Regions from separate parts of the Homo sapiens genome. Here all the other regions are linked to region 1. The links are contacts of gene promoters, found by promoter capture Hi-C in blood cells and fetal thymus (Javierre and others, 2016). All regions are on one chromosome and are shown on one strand. The core of a region is centred on a gene start or on the middle of the fragment in contact, and the rest is flanking DNA. Distances in the headings are between cores, read along the strand shown. Region 1 holds the start of CNIH1 (cornichon family member 1). Region 2 holds the start of TMEM260 (transmembrane protein 260). Region 3 overlaps NAA30 (N-alpha-acetyltransferase 30, NatC catalytic subunit).

Evidence for each region. Contacts are between HindIII fragments. The CHiCAGO score rates a contact against its expected background, and 5 or more counts as called.
Region 2: a fragment that was not itself captured here is called in contact with the fragment with the promoter of CNIH1 in region 1 in 2 of 17 cell types (total CD8 T cells and naive CD8 T cells); the score reaches 5.6 in total CD8 T cells.
Region 3: a contact is called between a fragment that was not itself captured here and the fragment with the promoter of CNIH1 in region 1, in 1 of 17 cell types (activated CD4 T cells). The highest score is 5.2, in activated CD4 T cells.

The regions. Positions count from the first base shown.
Region 1 is chr14:54,439,442-54,443,816 of GRCh38, forward strand. It overlaps CNIH1 (cornichon family member 1), which reads right to left and starts at 1,933. Exons shown (of 5, transcript NM_005776.3): 1 at 1,806-1,933. The coding sequence starts at 1,886. RefSeq lists silencers at 1,407-1,456, 1,467-1,826, 1,867-2,136 and enhancers at 1,542-2,340, 2,217-2,276. The HindIII fragment of the contact is 1,439 bases long and covers 1,071-2,509 here.
Region 2 is chr14:56,578,604-56,582,923 of GRCh38, forward strand. It overlaps TMEM260 (transmembrane protein 260), which reads left to right and starts at 1,195. Exons shown (of 16, transcript NM_017799.4): 1 at 1,195-1,471. The coding sequence starts at 1,312. RefSeq lists a silencer at 1,263-1,482. The HindIII fragment of the contact is 4,901 bases long and covers 394-4,320 here.
Region 3 is chr14:57,394,292-57,398,182 of GRCh38, forward strand. It overlaps NAA30 (N-alpha-acetyltransferase 30, NatC catalytic subunit), which reads left to right. Exons shown (of 5, transcript NM_001011713.3): 3 at 2,461-2,584. Among named protein-coding and RNA genes, the nearest start is that of NAA30, 5.7 kb to the left of the region's middle. The HindIII fragment of the contact is 1,814 bases long and covers 1,429-3,242 here.

The sequences.
Region 1 (4,375 bases), core at 683-3,182:
CCCCACCACTCTAAGAATCCCCATCATCCCAGAAAAAAGGAATACCCATCAAGCAGAATGACTTAAAGCTACATCTACAGATGGAATGGAACCACACACTTTCTTTCTTTCTTTTTTTTTGTTTTTTTTTTGAGACGGAGTCTCCGCCCAGGATGGAGTGCAGTGGCGCCATCGCGGCTCACTGCAACCTCTGCCTCCTGGGTTCAAGTGATTCTCCTCCGCCTCAGCCTCCCGAGTAGCTGGGATTACAGGCGCCCACCACCATGCCCGGCTAATTTTTTTGTATTTTTAGTAGAGACGGGGTTTCACCATGTTGGCCAGGCTGGTCTCGAACTCCTGACCTCGTGATCCTCCCGCCTCGGCCTCCCAAAGTGCTGGGATTACAGGAGTGAGCCACCGCGCCCGGCCATGGAACCACACATTTTCATCAGAGGCCTACTAAGGTTGAGCTAGTCTGTATCCCAAATTATCTTAGGTATTGTTCTTCCATCAAAGCAGGGCTGAAGATGCTCTTCAAATTACTGCTCCTACTGACAAGCATTCTGAGGTAGCAGTTATTTCCGACACAGTTAATAGCCTACATAAGTATTCCTGATTACAATAAGCAGTCAGGTCCTAAAATAATTGTAAACATAATCACACTGCTTAGCAAAAAGGAATGGATTTGTGATATGCTTCCACTTTCGAGACTTTTTTGCACAAGACGCTGCTGCTGTTTAATCATTCTGCCCCTCCGTATGTTTCATAGAAATCCTTGTTACTGGCATGATGAAACCTGACTTAAAATCTACGTAAGAGTGAACGCGGTCATTCAAATTAAAAGCAACATTCCAGAAGGCACTGGAATATGGGGAAAAGAGAAGCAAGTATGAGATAAATTTTTAATGAATGATTTCCAGAAGGCTCTCAAGGCTTTTAATTTTGTGCTAAAGCAACAGAAATTCTTATCTCTGTAGAACTATGTCACAGGGAACTTACGACTTTTTCCTTAGAGGGACCAGTAAGGCTGTGCTTCCACCCTGCAATAGTGATGATGATGTGTGTAACAGAAATAAATACTGCCCCAGAAAAGCTTAAGGTTTCTGAGCATCTCAAAATCAAATGAAAACTCCCTCTACTAAATCAAGCAATCCTGAATATAAGGGTGGCTTGGAAAGCTGCCTGTTGAAACTCCAGCGGTCAAAGTATGATTTGGGGGGGAAACGCGCACATGCAATCAACAAAGTAATCAATTGAACTTGCATCAAAGTTCACCAGGAAACAACAATCTGGAAAAAGAGAAAAAAAGTGATTTGATTTGAAGAGCACCGAACAAGTGCTGAAAAGTAGAGTTGGAAATTCACCCTAAGTAGGTTACATTTTGGCCACAGTTCTGTGGAAACCCTAAAAGAAAGTCAATCTGTATTAACAAAAATTCGGAAAACTTCATTCACACTACGGCCGTCCCACCGCGCTGTCGACATCCTCCCCGGGAATGCAGGGCCGCGGGCCGGCAGAGGTCGGTGCGAACGCAGCGCGGAACCGCGGGCGCCCGCCTGGACCGCGGCCGCCCCATCCAGTAGGGGAGGAGTAGCGGTGCGCGCGGCCTGTGCCGAGGCAACGCGGGCGCGTCCACCTGGCGACTGCGCGCCCCGGCTCCTCCAGTACCCGCGGCCCCCAGACCCCTCGCCGCGCGGCCCGTGCCAGCCGGGCCGCATCCCCGACGCGCAAAGCCCCGGCGGCCGTGGCGGCCCGGACCGCGGGCCCGGGGCGAAAAGAGGCTGTGTTGCCGCCTCGCCCTCCTTTCCCCAGCCCCAGCTACTCACGTGCCAAATGGCGAAGAAGATGAGCGCGGCAGTGAGCAGCAGCGCCAGCATGTAGCAGAAGGCCGCGAACGTGAACGCCATGGCTGGGGAGGAGGAGCGGGGAGCGGCGCCGTTGCCAGCGGAGAAAGGCGGCGCAGGGCCCTCTGGGTAAAACCATTCACTTCCCCCGGCCACAGCCGCGACCGCCACCGCTACCGCCGCGGCGCCAGCCCTCTCAGCGCGCCTGCGCACCAGCCCAGCCGCCCCGGCGCCCTCTGATGGCCGGAGTCTGCGTTGCACTGACATTGTCCGCACAGTTGTTGATTGATTTTTCCTTCCTTCTTGCGTTTATTCTTTCAACAAATATTTATTGAATGAATGCCTAGTTTGTTACAGGTACCGCGCTTCTCGCTTCAGATACAAAGATGAATAAGATAGTACCTGCACTGAAAGAACTTAGTATAGTGCCGGAAATGAACACCTAAATAAATAATTACGTTATTATAACCCCGTAAACGGATGTGTGTGGGATGCTCTGAAAGGTCAAAGAAGGACAGCCAGCCCGCCCTGGAGCATTTAGGCAGGATTCCTGCTGTAGGTGTTTCCTAAGTTGGCCTTAGATGATGATAAGTTCTCCAGGCAAAAAGAAGGTAGAACTGGCAGTCCAAGGAAACAGTTCAGAATGAGGAAACGCAACAGAGATGGAAAAAAGAAAAGAAAAATAAAGCTTCGTGTCTCAGGTGAAACCAGCAGCAATTCTGTATTAATGGAACCTAAGTGCAAGACAGTGGTGAGACTTAGAAATGAATTAGCAAGGGATCAGATCATAGAGGGCCTTATAATGCTTCATTACGGAGCTCAGACTTCTTATCCCATAAGCCCAAATTTTTTGCTCACCACACACAACTAGAAAGATTTTTTTCATTGCAACCCAGTGGAATATCATACAGACATCAAGTTATGAAGAGGTGGAAATCTAGTTATAGAGGCAAAGAAATATAGATATGACCAAAACAAAAATTTCACAAAACTGTACTAATGATCCATAAGTACTTTCCCTTCTCTCTTTTGCTACTTGTTTTTAATGCTGGTCTTAACACACAAAATTGATTCAAAATTGATTTAACTTTCCATTACAACCATTTTTAAAAGAAAAAAACTCTATTAACTGATTGCTGCTGATGGAAGAGAAAATCATTGAAGGCTTTTGAGCAAAAGAAGACCATGTTTAGATTTGCATTAAAGATCGTTCACCTAGCAAATTGCGTAGAATAGTTTAGAAGCAGGGTCTGTCCAGTGCTGTGCAATAGAACCTTCTGTGATGGTGAAAATTTTCGATACCTAAACATTGCCCAATACAGTAGCCACTAGCCACATGTGGCCATTGGGCACTTGTAAATTGTCTAGCATGACTGAGGAACTGAACTTTAAATTTCACATCACTTTAAGTAAAATGTGGCTAGTGTATTGGACAGTACAACCTGTACCACCAGGATTATGTGGCACCTGTGTGCAAATTATCAAGTTACTTTTGGCCAGGCACAGCAGCTCATGCCTGTAATCCTAACACTTTGGGAGGCCAAGACAGGAGGATCACTTGAGCTCAGGAATTCAAGACCAGCCTGGACAAGGTAATGAGATCTTGAGAGGTGACAGCGTGCTGGCAGTCCTCACAGCCCTCCCTCACTCTCGGCGCCTCCTCTGCCTGGGCTGCCACTTTGGCGGCACTTGAGGAGCCCTTCAGCCCACCGCTGCACTATGGGAGCCCCTTTCTGGGCTGGCCAAGGCCAGAGCCAGCTCCCTCAGCTTGCAGGGAGGTGTAGAGGAAGAGGCGCGAGGGGTAACCGGGACTGCGCAGGGTGCTTGCGGGCCAGCTGGAGTTCCGGGTTGGCGTGGGATTGGCGGGACCCTCACTCGGAGCAGCCGGCCGCCCCTGCCGGCCCCGGGTGATGAGGGGCTTAGCACCCGGGCCAGTGGCTGCAGAGGGTGTACTGGGTCCCCCAGCAGTGCCAGCCCACCGGCGCTGCACTCGATTTCTCACCGGGCCTTAGCTGCCTTCCCGCGGGGCAGGGCTCGGGACCTGCAGCCCGCCATGCCTGAGCCTCCCACCCCCTCCATGGGCTCCTGTGCAGCCCAAGCCTCCCCAGCGAGCGCCACCCCCTGCTCCATGGCGCCCAGTCCCATCGACCACCCAAGGGCTGAGGAGTGCGGGTGCACGGCGCGGGACTGGCAGGCAGCTCCACCTGCAGCCCCGGTGTGGGATATGCTGGGTGAAGCCAGCTGGGCTCCTGAGTCTCGGGGGGAAGTGGAGAACCTTTATGCCTAGCTCAGGGATTGTAAATATACCAATCAGCACTCTGTATCTAGCTCAAGGTTTGTAAACACACCAATCAGCACCCTGTGTCTAGCTCAGGGTTTGGGAATGCACCAATGTGCACTCTGTATCTAGCTTCTCTGGTGAGGCCTTGGAGAACCTTTATGTCTAGCTCGGGGATTGTAAATACACCAATCAGCACTCTGTATCTAGCTCAAGGTTTGTAAACACACCAATCAGCACCCTGTATCTAGCTCAGGGTTTGTGAGTGCACCAA
Region 2 (4,320 bases), core at 1,594-4,093, 2.1 Mb after region 1:
AGAAGCCAATCCTTAGGTTAAGCTCACACATAAGGCGAGCAGCTTATACAGGAAGTGAGTGAGGAGGCAGGGTTATCTGGGAATCCATTTTAGAAGCACTCTACCACACAGCCCCTCTCCTCCAGGAACTCACAGTACAGCTGAGAAATTACCTGGAAAAGGCTGGAAATTGTATAAGTACCTGGAAAAGACTAAGGTGTGCTGGCCCCATGACCGTCAAGGTAGGTATATGTTACTCTATAGTTTAGTCACTGTGTCTCTATCAAATTGCGCGTAACACGTTTGAGATTGTCACTGGTTTTCAGTGTGTCTTTGAGATACATTTTATGCGGGTTGCTCTCCTCCCCGCCCACTCCAGGATAATTGCTTTAATAATAAAACATAAGCTTAAAAAGCTTAACTGCGCTGTTATGTAGTTGTCCTTATTAACGGCTCCGATTCTTTTTTTTTGCGTTACAGCTCATTGTAAAATATGGTGATTCAATTTCATTTTCCACTTTGCTGTGTTGAAAGCTCCAGCAAAACACTCCTCTTCATTAAACTAGGAGACACCTTTATCATGGTTTGAGTTATCTGCATGAATACAGGAACTCAAATTTCCCGACTCATCTACAGAGTTTTCATTATGCTATGGAATGAAAAAAAAAAAAAAAGACGCACTAGCATATTCTAATCTCTCTAAAAATTACTCAGTGATTTAATAAGTAGCACACAGACTTATTGTAATTAGTCATAGTAACGTAGTAAATCGTAATAAATACATAATTGTGATTAATGTATTTATTGGCTTACTTTGCACATACGGTAAATACACCACCCTTTTTTTTTTTTTAGCACAGGTAGGGGCTCCTGGCTGATCGTGGCCCTTTTGTGCAGTTCCACCCCGCACCGTAGGGGGCAGGAGCAGCCCTTCCTCGCTCGCGGTTTTCGACGCTGCTTTGGTCTCTGTCAGACCCAACCAAGTCAGTATAAAAGGGGGGAATAGCCATGGAGAAGGTAGGCCTGTGGCCGGGCTTGCTTTTTAAAGGGAATGCTCTCCTGGTGATTAGGAACCTTAAATCACATTATAAGTAGGTGAACGCCAATGCGTGGTGCACTGCGGGAAAACTCGCAGGGCCTGGCTCAAGGGAGGCCTGGCATTTTCTCCTCCCCGCGCTCAGGCGGAGAAAGGTGCGGTCCAACCCGCGGAGGCTCGACCCGGAAGCCGCCGTGGCCGCCGCACAAGCTGCGCTCGTCTCTCGGCTGGGGAGCTCCGTGTCGCACCGGGTTCTTGGGCTGGCCGTGTCCTTCTCCCTCGGTCGCCACTGGCCCATGAGTCCCCATGGCGACGGCAGGGGCCAGGCCCAGGGGCGGGCAGTCCGAGTGGGGCTGCGGCGCTCCGGGGGCATCCGCGGCGGCGTGGCGGTGTTCGCCGCCGTGGCCGCAGTGTTCACCTTCACCCTGCCCCCTTCGGTACCGGGGGGAGACTCCGGTAAAGTACTCGCAGGGTTGCCCCTTCTGTCCCTCTCCCCTGGTCCCAGAACGGGCAGGGTCTGCGTCTGGCCCCTGCTCTTGGCATTCGGTCTGGTCAGCTCTGGGCCTCCATCCACCCCCCTGTGCACAGCGCACTATTGTGTGTTCCAGAGCCCACTTCTGTTTCCATTCCTGTCGTTGTGGTTTCTTTAGTTCTCAGGTTTTCGAGATGGGGCGTATTGTTGGTTTCGCCTGGTGGGGCTTATCGACCTCTCCACTTCCCCAGATCTTTTATCCTGGTCCTGAGTATTTACTTTCAGTCTTTTTTAGTCCACAGATATTATTCACGGTGTCCTTATTATGTTTCAAACAAAAGAACAGTAGTGGCGAACAGATAATTGCTAGTGTTCCAGTGCGGTTAGACAATACACAAGTTAATGAATAAACAGCATATTCACTGGTGATAAGTTATGGAGACAGTAGGAGGGAAATATGATTGAGAGTGGGGGTAAGTAGTGGGTCCTTCCGAATGACTATTCAGGAAAGACCTCTGAAGAGGTGGTGTTTTAGTTGAAACCTGAATATTGAGAAGGAACTAGCCATGCAGAATATTTGCAGGAGAACTCTTAAAAAGGTGGAAGCCAGGTGCGGCTGTTTCTATGAAAAAGAAAAGCATGACTCATTGGCCCTTAAATCACACTAATTGTTTTGTATTTGATGCAAGAAACAAGATCCATGTTTTGTTTTTGGATTCAATAATGCCATATCATGGCCAGTAATTTTGTCAGAATAGTGCTGTAATTTCAGGTGGTGAACCTATGGACTGAAGAAGCAGTTTTTGCTGCATGACTAGTGATCCCCAAATTGAGCAGCTTAAACAGCAAACGTTTATCGTCTCCCGTTTTTGTAAATCAGGAGTCTGGGTGCCGTTTAAGCTAGATGCTCGTACTCAGAAAAAGGTTGCTGTCATGGTGTGCGATGGGGCTGCGGTCTTCTCAAGGCTCAATTTGGGGAGAAACGCAATCTAGTTCTTTGCTATGTGGGTCTCCATAAGTTAACTGACTTCTGTCAAGAAAAAGATGAAGGACACCTCTCTGTCTGACAGCTCTGTCATTTTGTAACCTAATACTGTAAGTGATATACCACTTCTGCATTTTATTCCTGGAACTTCGTCAGTAAACCCAACCCATATTCAAGGGGGAAGGATTACACAGGTGAGAATATCAGGACTTGGGGATTAGTGGGGATCATATTTAGGGCTGCCTACCACGTTGAAGATCTTTGATGTTACATCTTCAAATTGTTACCTTTCTTCTTTCAGGTCCTGTTGCACAAGTAGGGATAGTGTTTCATTCGTGTAGTAGGGAGTTTCTGTACAGTGTTACCAAGATTGGTATTTCATAATGGAAGTAACTTTATAGTTGTGAGTTTTGGTGCTGGAGAGCATTATTCAGAGGTTAGGTAGTTCTGTTACTTGTAAAAAAATAAAAAGATTGACAGCTACTTATGGTTGGTTGAGTGTGAAGGATGGGAGTGAGATTTATAATAACTGACGTTTGTTGGGCACTTACTATGTGCCAGGCACTGTTCCAAGTGCTTTATATGGGTTGTTGTTTTAACCCTCCCAGCTACCCTTAAAAGTAGGTGCAATTATTATTTTCCTTTTATAAATGGGAAAACTAAGGCTAAGCTATGCCCAAAGTCACACAAAGTAGAGAAATCAGGAAAAGAAAAGTATATTGACTTCAGAATATGCCCCCTTAACCTCTACTTTTCGTCAAAACATTTCATGAAATTCTTTTCTAAATCCACCATCACATATGTAGTGATGTTTAAAATTTATTTAAAATCATGATTATTGCCTTGCCTTTATTAATACTGTATTTTATTTTTTCCTAAAAGAATAAAGTTGTGTATTCACCTTGAGTTACCAAACTTTAGGTGCTTTAATTTTGTTTGGTTTGATGTTAAATAGTGGTTGCTTCTAATATTTTTATGTTCATTTTTGGGAATGATAAACTGTTTTCCAAGTATATGCCAATATGGAAAATTTGCTTTATCGTATATTTGATAATTGTGTTTACATGTTGAATGCACTATTCTTGAATGTTTATGAATTATATTTTCATCAATAAACAGAACACATCTCAAAACCAGTATAAAGCATGTATTCTTCTTCCTGATAAGTCTTACATTTTACTCCATAGATTCATCACATTGTGTCGTCTTGCCAAAATTATTTTTTGTACCACTTGACACACACAGTTCATTTATGGGCAGGGTGCTTGTGGTGCTTTTCGGGGAGGGGGTAGGAATCTGGCCTTCACTAAATTAGTTTGTACGTGAGTTTATTTCAAAGATACTGTCTTTAACAGATGTGATGTGTGACAGTCTAGTCTAATTAATATTGAGAAGTATGATATAAAGGGAGCTGGTTTTTGTAAAGGTTAAGCATCTGCTGACAACTCTGGGCTTGCCATTAGTTTGTATTGCAGACAACAAAGCCGTGGTTCTCAGACAGGAACGTACTTCAGAATTACCTGGGAAACTTGAGCCCCCAGTGCAAGTGGGTCTTAGTAGATTATGGAATTTGGAGGTGTGGGCAAGGAATCTTCATTTTTAAAAAGCAGGTTAATTCTGATGCAGGTAGACACAACTGAGGAACCTTTCATGTAAAGGGTTGGGAGAAAGCCAAGACTCGGGAAGCTCGAGGTTTTTTTACTATTCCCTTCCTCTTTATCACAATCAATTTAAGAGTAGTATTTCCCTTTAGATCTTTATCAAGGTTACATTTAGAGACGTTGAATGGGGACATCTTTTCTATTTCGATTTTAGTTTAACATTTGATAAGAATTGATGAAAGTTTGT
Region 3 (3,891 bases), core at 1,086-3,585, 3.0 Mb after region 1:
TGGCTTCCTCCAGTTTTCTATTTGTAGTGTTCTAGAATTTGGGAATCTCTCACTTTATTTTTTTCATAGTTTTATAGACTGACAACCCTTTGGCCTTGTAGTGTTAAGTCTTAATCTTGCCGGGGATTTTTCAGTTCCCATCCTTGAAAAAATACATTTAATAGCGTGAATTCCAAATGTATATGCAGAGCTTTTATTTGGAAAAATTGACAAGCAATTTAGTGATTCCTGTAAATGTACCACATATTCATGAGTAGTTTATCAGGAAAAAAAAATGCAGCATTGGTCTTCACTACTAATGTCATCGTAATGGTGTATGATATATTGGGCTTTTTAGATGATGTATACAGCTTGATTTTTGCTCCTATAGATTCTAAATTAGGAAGAAATCAGGTCTTAAGAATGAACTAATTTAATATTTTGTTTGCTTATTCCATGCTCAAAGGACAAAGATTTGTTTGAAATTCCTGTTCAGATTGAAAGTACTGTCCAGTTGTATTGTGTTTAATGGTTTTAATTTTTCCTCATTTTTGGATAGTTTTATATAAGGTGTAGCTATTCTGAGGTTTGTATCATCAATCTAATACAGGTTTTCATTTCACCTGAGCCTGGCTTATGAGGTCAGGCCAAAATTTTTTCTGGCCCTTTTAAATATACCATTTGGTCTGTGATAATTTTATGTATGTGTATGTATTTATACGTGTCTGTATATACGCACATATATTTGAAGTGAGTTTCAAATCAGAAAAAGCTTTCAGAGTTGGTCGAGGCGATTTTTGTGCATACTTCAGGTCTTTGTTTAAAAAATTTTTTTAAAAGATTGATGTATTGTGAGGGAAAAAATTAGAAATAACAATTTCAGAGGTTTATTGACCCAAAATAGTTTTGGAATGTGTGATAAACCAGAAATGAATTAGCGTGGGTTGTTGAATTTCATATTCCTTCAAAAGGATTTTTCCGACCTAGTTTAGGTTTGCATGAAATGGATTAGAATTATCTTGCTGAAAAGATTTCTCCACAGTTAAAAAAAGGCCTTTTAATCAATTTACAGAATGACAGACTAAAAAAGTCACAAATTTAAAATATGTATTAATTATAAATTGGACATTACTTATTAGTTTTTTGACTCATTTCTGCTTTTGTTGAAATAGTTTCTTCTGGAAAGTTAATTTATGGAAAACAGACTTCTTACTGACACATTATTTAAACAGTTGGAGATACTGCCCTATTTATATTTACCAGAAATACTGTGTTACTAGAACTTTTTATCAGCATTGGAATTTTTGAAAAACATTTTCAATGGTAACACTAGAAATCTTAATGAAAATGGGGGATGATTAGAATTTAACATGTAGCTTTTAATACTCTGGAAAGCTGTACGTTTTTATTAAAATAGAAATTTCTGTAAAATTAAAGCTTTTAACATAAAGCTTTGATTTTGAACTATAAATATTCTGAGAGCTTTATGACAGTTATCCACACTATCAGGAGTATCCTAAAAATGAGACTATGCTACACTTACATATATTAACAAAAACCTCTTGGGTATGGTCTAAGCAATACCTTATAAACTGTGCTTTTTCTGAAAATTTTTAATTTTTTTTTCCTGATCGAAATCTACCATTCAGGTGTAAATATGTATTATATCTGGCTTTCACTAAAACTTTATTATTAAATTTATTTTCATTTTTTTCTTTTATTGAGATGGGGTCTCACTCTGTCACCTAGGCTGGAGTGCAGTGGCACGATCTCAGCTCACTGTAGCCTCTCCCTTCCTGGCTCAAGCCATTCTCCTATCTCAGCTTTCCAAGTAGCTGGAACTACAGGTGCATGCCACCACACCTGGCTAATTTAAGTAATTTTGGTGGAGACAGGGTTTTGCCATGTTGCCCACGCTGATCTCAAACCCCTGAGCTCAAGCAATCTGCCTGCGCCTGCCTCCCAAAGTGCTGGGTTTACAGGCATGAGCCACAGCACCTGGCCATTATTACTAAATTTAACTGAATATATTTAAATTTACATTCTGCTGATGGGCAAGTTTTACAATATTTTATGTCCTAATGAATAGACTTTTTCTTTATAATCATTTTTTTTTTGCATATTTCCCCTTCCAGAACCTTAGGTCTTTGTTGCAAATAATTGTGATTTTAAGCACCTCATATGTAATCTTATAAAGTACTTGAATGTTTACCTTGTGGAATCTTGTCTTTTTTCCCTAGGCTTTAATAGTAAGCATAAAAAATTCATGTTCTAAAGAATATTGAGAAATTTTAACACTGGAACATTTAAAGGAGTTAGGGGATTTAGATTTCTGAAACTTCTGTGACTGCTGTCTTGCAAGAGTTCCCATTATCTTCCCCCGTCGAAAATGCTTACCAATGGTTGGTTGTTGTTTTCTCTGGATAATTGTGCAGTACCTGATGGCAATGTATTCTTCATAACTGTTTGTTTATTTTTAAGGCCATGGTAGGGGAGGAGTGTGTAGGTGCCATCGTTTGCAAGTTGGATATGCACAAAAAGATGTTCCGCAGAGGTTATATAGCCATGTTAGCCGTGGATTCCAAATACAGGAGAAATGGCATTGGTAAGAAAAATATTATTTTATGGAAAGAATGCCTAAGCTATTTTCATTTTTGTTGTGTTTTGAAATAAAAGACTTAAATGTAAGTATGTAGAAATGAAAGAAACTAAGGGAAGAAAATTAAGGCGGGTTTTAATTTTTAATTTCAAAATGGTATTTTTAAAAAGTTCTTAAAATGAATTTTTTCTTTATTAATGTTTTGTTTGACAGTTTTTCGTTTTAACAAGTAGCCGATCATCAGCTTTCACCTGCAGATTTTTTTAATCACATTCAAAATGCTTTGCATTATGCTAAGTACCACAAGAAATACTGCAATTTATAATTACATTATGATGGTCCTTCATGCCAGCCTTCAAGCACTTGTCTGTATTTGGGTTAAGTGGACCTCAATCAAGCCAAAATTATGGACAAATTGTTACCATTACTTGGTGCTAGTCATCAACTATATATTGCAATTCAGGAAAGATCAGGAGATGAGAATTGATTGTTTCTTGTAATTCCCAAACTTAATTTTTTGTTGGGTCTACTTTTCCTGACATGTTTAGTTAATCTTAACACTCATGATTTATAATGATCATTAGAATCATGTGGGTGGTTTAAAAACATGTATTTGGGCCCCTCACCCTGAGACTCTTGTTTGTCTTGTCAGAGGTGGGGCTGAAGCTTCCCTAGGTGACTGTGATGTAAGCCTGATTAAGAACCACTCTTCTATGGCTGGGTTAGATAACTTTTGTCATTTAAATAACGCCATAAAACTCAATAGGCCACCAGGTGCCGGGTGCGGTGGCTCACGCCTATAATCCCAGCATTTTGGGAGGCCAAGGCAGGTGAGTCACTAGGTCAGGAGTTCAAGACCAGCCTGGGCAAGATGGCGAAACCCTGTCTCTACTAAAAATACAAAAATTAGCTGGGAGTGGTGGTGGGCACCTGTCATCCCAGCTACTCAGGAGGCTGAGGCAGGAGAATTGATTGAACCTGGGAGGTGGAGGTTGCAGTGAGCGTGCCACTGCACTCTAGCCTGGGTGACAGAGCAAGACTCCGTTTCAAAAAACCACTCTTCTATTCTCTAGGACCTAGTGGCTCTTTGTTCACAGTGGAGAATTGGGTAGACAAGCATTTGTCTAAGCATGTCAAATTTTGTGATGTGCTTTAGCTGAGTATTCATAAAAAAAAGTTTAATACCTGTACCAGTATTTAATCATTAGTTTTTTCACTTTCATGTTTTTTAAAAACTATTAAGTGTTATTGTCCAACCTAAGACTCACACACGGTCCTAGGTATCATGAGAAGTAACTATAAATAGGTTTACT